Regions from separate parts of the Homo sapiens genome. Here all the other regions are linked to region 3. Evidence: promoter capture Hi-C in 16 types of primary human blood cells and fetal thymus (Javierre and others, 2016). All regions are on one chromosome and are shown on one strand. The core of a region is centred on a gene start or on the middle of the fragment in contact, and the rest is flanking DNA. Distances in the headings are between cores, read along the strand shown. Region 1 overlaps AKAP6 (A-kinase anchoring protein 6). Region 2 overlaps AKAP6 (A-kinase anchoring protein 6). Region 3 holds the start of HEATR5A (HEAT repeat containing 5A).

Evidence for each region. Contacts are between HindIII fragments. The CHiCAGO score rates a contact against its expected background, and 5 or more counts as called.
Region 1: a contact is called between a fragment that was not itself captured here and the fragment with the promoter of HEATR5A in region 3, in 1 of 17 cell types (M1 macrophages). The highest score is 8.3, in M1 macrophages.
Region 2: a fragment that was not itself captured here is called in contact with the fragment with the promoter of HEATR5A in region 3 in 1 of 17 cell types (M1 macrophages); the score reaches 6.3 in M1 macrophages.

The regions. Positions count from the first base shown.
Region 1 is chr14:32,500,468-32,503,167 of GRCh38, reverse strand. The region is part of intron 2 of AKAP6 (A-kinase anchoring protein 6); the gene reads right to left. Among named protein-coding and RNA genes, the nearest start is that of AKAP6, 170 kb to the right of the region's middle. The HindIII fragment of the contact is 2,256 bases long and covers 274-2,529 here.
Region 2 is chr14:32,474,076-32,476,775 of GRCh38, reverse strand. The region is part of intron 2 of AKAP6 (A-kinase anchoring protein 6); the gene reads right to left. Among named protein-coding and RNA genes, the nearest start is that of AKAP6, 150 kb to the right of the region's middle. The HindIII fragment of the contact is 265 bases long and covers 1,254-1,518 here.
Region 3 is chr14:31,419,130-31,421,829 of GRCh38, reverse strand. It overlaps HEATR5A (HEAT repeat containing 5A), which reads left to right and starts at 1,280. Exons shown (of 36, transcript NM_015473.4): 1 at 1,280-1,358. HEATR5A-DT (HEATR5A divergent transcript) reads right to left here and starts at 1,072. Exons shown (of 4, transcript NR_110045.1): 1 at 853-1,072. RefSeq lists enhancers at 960-1,109, 1,540-1,589 and a silencer at 1,700-1,819. The HindIII fragment of the contact is 6,619 bases long and covers 1-1,967 here.

The sequences.
Region 1 (2,700 bases), core at 152-2,651, 1.1 Mb before region 3:
AAATATAATTTTAAGCTACACTAAAATATCATTTTCAGACACAGAGCAAAAAAAAATTTCATAACACAATCTATGGGGAAAGGCACATGAAATAGGCACTATTAAGTATTCCTGGTTGGACGGTAAATTAGTGCAACCACTGTGGAAAGCAGTTTGGCCATTTCTATTAAATTCCAAATGCATATACTATATATATTGACTAGCAATTCTACTTCTGAGAATTTATGTATGCAATATGTTTACATTTTTTGTGAAATGACTTATGTTCAAGCTTATTTATTGCAATACAGTTTGTAATATCCAAAGATTGGAAACAGACTAAATGTTCATCAGTATGGTACATTTATTCAGTAGAGCACTACACAACTATAAGAATGAGGATAATAAGAAGACTTTATATTCTGACGCAGAAAGATCTTCATGGTGTATAAAGTTTAAAAAGCAAGGTGCAGAACAGTATGTATAGGATAAAACAGGAGGAAAACTAAGAATATATATTCACATTTGCTTATAAATGCATATACAAATTCTAGAAGAATATGCAAGAAGAGAAGAATGAGTACCTACAAAGTTGGGTTACAAAAGGGAGAAACTGTTAGAAAGGCCAGCTCTCTGCATTGGAGTATAAAAGGTGGCGTTTTCACTGTATATCTTTTCATATTTTTAAATTTTTGGCTCTGTAAATGTATTTCATATTCACAAATATAAGACAGACAGCAACAAAAACTCTAAACCAGTTTGCCGTGGGTAATTTAAAGCTAAAGGGCAGTGGTCCAATTAAACTGTCTTCAATAAAAGCTGCTCTTGATGGACACTTGTGTTATAATCAGTAATCCATGGAGAGCAGTCACTCTTTACCACCAGTCTCCTTTGAGGAATATTTATCTCATTTCTCCATCTAAAATATCTCCTTTCATTTAAGAAATAAAACAGCTTATCCAAGCACTTCAGTTCAATAATTTCACCATTAAGAGCACTTCTGTTACTATTCTTCTAAGCACTTTTAAAAAGCTAAAAACTTCAATTGAACAGACTGTTCATTATAACATAAAATACAATTTATACATTGATTGAAATGGCTTGATGAGGACCTTAACAATCTTTTGCTTTGAATGAGGAGCTTCAGTATGAGGAAGGAAAAGGCCCACTCAAAATGATAATGCAATGCTGAAAATAGTACTATTAGTTAAACGATCCAGTAATAAGGCATATTTGCTTCATTATACTGGGCGCTTATCATTTTCTAAAACAGAAGTAATAGGATACTGTCATTAAGTCAGAGTACAGCCTAGGAGAGCCAATGTGATAAAATATTGAAGACATAGGTTTACTGCAAGAGCTGCATCTACATGCACAGAGTTAAAGGGGAGGTTGAAGGACAAATAAAGGAAAGAAAGAAGGGCAGTCTGATGGAAGAAATATCACTCCAGAGAGTGAAGACCTCGCATCTACTTACATTTTCTCATTAACAAGAGTGTCAGTTAATCTGCCTGGGCATCAATTTCCTGATCTGTAAAATATGGTAATAATAATACCTTATGCTGTGGTAAAGACTCTACTCTGTACTCGCCAAACCTATTTTTTTTTCCTCCTGGGCACACAGCTAAATGACATTTTCCAGGTGCCCTGGGCAGTTAGTTAGATCAGGTCATATGGACTAAATACTGGCCAATGGAACGTGGGTAGAAGTGATATACTTTGGTGCCAGGTTGAATCCTTAAAACTTCCTTTGAGATATTTTATGTACTCTCTTTTCCTTGTCTGCTGACTGGATTCTGAAGATCGAGGATTCTGAGGTCCTAGAAAAATGAACCTCTAGATCTGTACTGTCCAATGTGGTAGCACTTGAAATGTTTTTGCTAGTCCAAATTGAGATGTATTCTAAGTATAAGATACACACTGGATTTCAAAAACTTTGTGTGCAAAAAAGAATTTGAAATTGTTTATTAATAATTTTATATTAATTACATGTTAAAACAATATTTTGGACAAATTGGGTTAAATAAGAGATATTAAAATTTATTGTGTTTTTACTTTCTTGATTTAGAAAATTTAAAAATCGCAAGTATGATTCATTTGTGGCTTCTACTGTATTTTTATTGGACAGGGTTGCTTAGGAGGGAAGGAACCTCAGTCCTTGAATAACTGATAGAGCAGAGCTTTCCAAATACTTTGGTGTGCCACAGGCTAGAATGCACTTGCAATGGGAAACTTCAGGGCTTGACCTTTGTTCTTTAAGAGTCCATTTGAAGGTTCCCTGTATACATACCTGCCCCAGTTAAGGTAAAGGAAAAAGGAACTTGTTTATACCAAGTCAGGATAAAGGGAATGGGGGAAGGTATCTTATGATATGGTGGTGACTATGACCATCATACCTGTAGACACTAGAAACATCTGGCATAACTAGCAAAGAAAAAGAGAAAAGGTTGGGAGACACAAAGATCAGTCAAGAATACACAGCCCTTTTGATACAGACTTTTCCCCATATATGGTAATTAAGACTAAAGTACAGAACTTCTCAGGGAAGCTTCTGTACTCAAATCTTCACCATTCTAAGTAGTATTAGCACCTACACTGGCAACACCATACCAATTCTGGGTAGATATGCTGCATGAACACAACTTCAACCATTGGCACCTATGCATCCCATATAGTAAGTGTGCCCTCCTTCCAACCAGGGACTCTGGGGAAGTATGCTCA
Region 2 (2,700 bases), core at 137-2,636, 1.1 Mb before region 3:
TATAAATGCTTCACTTTCTCTTGCAGCAATCCCTATGTCAGTATTTGGCTTTGCTACACCAGGCAAGGGGATCCCAGTTTAGTTTGGTAACACTTACGGAAAATCCCTCCCTATTATTTTAGCACTGTGATTCAGAAAGATCTTCAACTTGCGGCCCGGTGTCTGAAGGTTTTAATCTTTATCTGACACAAGTCAAATATGACTAGATAAAATTCGATGGGAAACAGGGCTAAAATCCAGTAGGAGACTTGCATTCTATACAAAAATCTTATTGCAATATATCTTTGAGGATAATGCACACAAGGAAAGTTCAACTTAAACCTCTTCCAGATCCTACTTCGCTGTTTACTTATGTCCAAGTAGGGTCTGAGATGACTTTGGGGGCTTCCAAATAAGGAGGCACTATGCATTTCTCCCCAAGCCTCTCAACTCAGTAAGGAAGTGCTTCTATATAGATCCATCCTCCTTGCCTAGCCTTCTATGGATAAAGATTTTTAAAACTAATCATTATAAAAACTTTAAGAGCATGAGGTCAGAATTTTTGTCACTTGTGTTTACTGCTATGCCAAGAATAGTTTGACATATGGTAGGCATTAAATATTTGTTGAATTGATAAATATAAGGTCCTAGAAAATATATCACAAAAATATGTTTAAGAACAATATATTGTTTATTTCTGCATATAAACATGAAAATTTAAAGGTACCAAATAGATAATAATTATAATATTATACAAGTACTGCTAGTTAAAAATGTACTTAAAACATTTTTATGAGTAGTTAAAAGAGCTGAAGGCCAGGCGCAGTGGCTCACGCCTGTAATCCCAGCACTTTGGGAGGCCGAGGCGGGCGGATCATGAGGTCAGGAGATCGAGACCATCCTGGCTAACATGGTGAAACCCCTTCTCTACTAAAAAAAAAATACAAAAAAATTAGCCGGGCGTGGTGGCGGGCGCCTGTAGTCCCAGCTACTTGGGAGGCTGTGGCAGGAGAATGGCATGAACCCAGGAGACGGAGCTTGCAGTGAGCAGAGATAAGCCACTGCACTCCAGCCTGGGTGACACAGCGAGACTCCGTCTCAAAAAAAAAAAAAAAAAAGAGCTGAAAATGATTTCTGTCTGCAGACTCTGCTCATCAGATTAAGATGTAAGGATGCAGGTGAGCAGGTTGGTTGCATGCCAGTGCTGCAAAGAGAAGCTGGTTTTGCTCGATCTTCCACATTGACAGAATTCATAGCATGCCTTTTTGGAAGCTTTGCTCTGCATAGAATTGTCAATATGCACCTGCCATCAGTCCTTCAAGACATCTTGCCCAAAATATCACCTTTAAAATAAGAACCCACAACAAAAACTAACATTCACTAAAAAGGATTAATGGAGGGGATGCCTGAATCAGCTGTAGCCAATGTGAAGGTAGAATGGTGTTGTAAATAAGAGAGCAGAAGGCTTTAGAGATGCCCTGAACATCAGCCTTAGCATTATTATTATAATAACAACTGTGGGTCTTTGGAAGAGAAGCTTAACCTCTGTGCCTCAGTTTCCTGTGTTGTGTGTCAGGACTAGGACCCACATCACAGGATAAGGACAAAACATGATAGTGCATGCAAAGTATCTGACATATAGTAAGCGCTGAACAAAGGTTCACTGTGATTATTATACATCCATAAACCATTGAAAGTAAATTATAGACGAGTACTACACTGAGATGTACATTCCTTTGTATAAGGAATGTTCATCAGGCTGTAGCTCTACGTATGTATTTCCAGAGAGAACATTTAAAGAAATATACTTCCTGTGTCTCAAAAGTACAAAACTGAGAACAAATGTGCTACAGCTGTGGAAGTGAACATATGTACACCTCTCCCAAATGAATGGTAGGTTAGAATTTTCATCCGTTTTGCCAAGAAATTCATATAATTCCTATTCTCCAAAGCAAATAGCAAATAAACAAATTTATAGAAATTTAACAGAGAAATCTGGAATCAGAACAAATTTTGGAAAATGAGTGAAGTGCAAATATCAAACAATTTCTAAAATAAATGCAGGACCAAATGAACTGGAAACATATTCCATGAAGGAAACTTAAATCCTCATCCCCCTTGGGGAAAAGTGCTAGTTTCCTGCAAGATTCAATCCCTATTTCTTTAATGTGTGTGAACTATAAGCCAGCCCCACCTGGAATTTAGTTTGATTACAAATAAGTTTGTCAGATTGTTTACCTTGAAATCTTTCTTCTCTCCTAAAGAATTCTAAGAATGGTACTCGCAGTCACTCAGCTTTTTCATCAGAGAACTTGCTTGTATACAGATGTTGAACCATGTGAGACTACCATTCAATTGCCTTTGACCCACAAAAACAGCAATTTCATATGGTTCACTTATTCTACGTTGGATGGAAGTGGTCTAGGAAGATTTGAGGGGTTAAGGAAGTGGCTCCATAAAGAGAAGATATTTATTCCTTGTTAATGAATTTCACCTCCTCCAAGTTGTTGTGTCACAAAACGAAACACGTGTTGAGGAAGTAGAATCGCTTCATGTGGAAAGAATTAAATTCTCTTAGCATTGATGAAAAAAGACAGTGGGCTGGGCACCGTGGCTCACACCTGTAATCCCAGCACTTTGGGAGGCCGAGGCGGGTGGATCACCTGAGATCAGGAGTTTGAGACCAGCCTGGCCAACATAGTGAAACCCCGTTTCTACCAA
Region 3 (2,700 bases), core at 31-2,530:
AAAAAAAAAGAGAGAGAGAAAAGAGAGAAAGAAACGGATTATAAGTCATTTAACAAAATAGAAACCTCTGGATCCATACTAATTAATATAAATACATTAACTGAAGATTTGATGAGAAACAAGATATTTACAAATATCTTGAAAGGAGAGTTTCAGAGTCTCCCTCACAAAATACTTATTAATTTACAAAGGGGGGAAAAAAGTAACCACACTGGACAAGCCTAACAGACATCACCTTATTAAAGTAAACATCTGTAATGAGAGAAGTTAAAATCGTGCCACCTGATAGGGTGCCATGAGAAGAAAGCAGCAACACTTCTAGAGTCCTGTCATACCTAGCTAAATGTAATCATGAGTAAATATCAGACAGACCCAAAATGAAGGCCATTCTACAAAAATAACTGGCCAGGAATCTTTAACAGCGTCAAGAATATGAAAGGCAAGGCAAGACTGAGAGTTCCAGTTTGAAGAGTAGGAAAGATACATGATAAGTAAATACAATGCCTGATTCTGAACGGAATCTTTTACCATAAACAATATTATTGGGACAATTGGTAAAACGCCGAGTTATGTAAATGTTTTGATTTTGATGGTTATATTGTGATTATGTAGAAGGTGCTTAGGGACAATGTGGCATGGTGTCAGCAATTTAAATCTCAATTCAGGGAAAAAAAGTTCTTTGTACTATACTTGCAACCTTTTTGTAAGCTGGAGATAGATTCAAAATGAAACTTGAAAAATGACATTTAAAACGCTGAGTGTAGTGGGAAAACGCACATGACTCAAGGTAAGAGGCTATTAGTCTCAGTTCTGCCATTGACTTAGTATGTGACCTTGAGCAAGTCACTTTACCTCAGTCCTCACAGTCAAGGCTCTCTAGGGTCCCTTCCACGTCTAACATCTACCCCCACAGCACTGGCCCCGCCTGAATTTCTCCAGGCCCTTTAGGTGTCCCAGAGCTGCACCCAAAGACTCTGGCTTACGATAAAAACAGACAAAAATAGTTGTGGCCGGAATCTCCGGACTGAAAAACCGCTGTCCTAATCCTAACTTGGGCCGCAGTCTCCATCGCTCTTTCGACGGTGAAGCAGTCACGCCTGCCAGAGTGGGCGCTCGATGGCTCGGCGGCCAGCTGGCGGGGCCTTGGACCAGCGGCCCGGCGCAGGGCGCGCTCCCAATCGCTAGCTCCCGCGGTGCTCGCCGCTGAGAGCTTTCCGGCCACGCCCCACGCGCGCCCCGCCCACCTCAATGCCTCGCTGTCGCCGCCGCCGGCAATTCCAGACTCTGCTAGGGTTAGCAGAGCAGCCGGTAACGTTGCTGGACCGGGACGCACGCTCAGCTGAGGAGGACCCCCAAAGGCAGGCAGTCGGGGATCCAGGGAGCGGGGACACCTCCGGGCGCGAGGGGGCTGTGTCTGGGCTGCCTGTTGGCTGGGAAGGAGAACGCACCAGGGCCGCTGTATGAGTTGAGCGCTCGGGGATCCCGAGGGTGGTCGCGGCAGCAATGTGATCGCGAAAGAAGCCGGTGGGAGAACCGGTCGAGGGGCTAGGTGTCTTGACCCTAAGGGCTGGAGTCCGCCGAGAAGGGGCTGACTGGGGCACAGGGTCGGCTGATAAACAGCGTGGTCCGTTCTTCCTCCTGGACTACGGGAAAGTCTGGCTTCACCTGTGCACAACAGGTAGGCGTGGACTCTGCCCGCCAGCGGGAGCCGGGGTTGCCGGGCGTGTGGGGAAGGTCAGCAAGTCGGAGCCCGCCTCGCCAACTCGCCGCTCCCGGGACCCGCCCTGCGGCGTCCGCTGCGCCAGTGGTCAGCCAGGAGCCGGGCCCCGGCCCGGCCTTCGGGCGAGCTTCCTCAGAGGCCCGTTCGTTTTCTGCAGGAACCCTCAAAGAGAGTTCCCAGAAGGGAGCAGTGGAGAGTGTGGATATTTGCTTTCTAACTGTTGCAGTTCTCTCCAGGAAAGAAAGCTTTTCCTTTGGTGGCATTTGCTTAGTGTGAGGAAACATTTTCTTTCACCCTACTCTCGGCCAACGCGGCGTTATTTCAAGTGATTATAAAGTCTTTAGAAACTTTATAAAGCGTTTTATAGTGTTTATTTATCACAGTAATGGATACCTCTGGCAAGTTGGGATAATTTTCTTGACTGTCAAGTCAGATAATAATAAAATGGCTTGAGCTCCTACATTAAAGGTCATAGTTATCCATTGTTTTTATGTGCATTCATTTATTGAACAAATATGCAGCACTTTTTTGGGGCTAGGCGCCCTTAAGGAATTTACAGCCTGAAAGATATTAGAAGTTTAAGGAGGAAAAAAAGGGGCCCACAAGTACACTTAAGAACTTCCAGAGAAAATACTCCCAGTGAAATTACTTAAGCTGTAGGGAAAGCAGAAGTGTGGTTAGAATTGAGCATTAGTTGGATGGGGAGAGGAGAATTTTGTTTAATTTTCCAAACATTTTAGAAAGTATGTCTTTGAGAAAGTAATTTTAGATAAAGTATCGAAGCCGAGATTTGTGTTACATTTTAATGCCATTGACTTTTTTTTTTTCTTCACTGATAAGCAGGCAGGATTTATAATATAAGAATAGTGACAGTTGGAGAATACTGTAGTATGGATTTGTTGTGCCTTGGAATGCAGTTGTTTTACCTAGATGACTATAGAATAGGAGAATAAGAAAAGACTCCTCACCTGAAAGTCAGG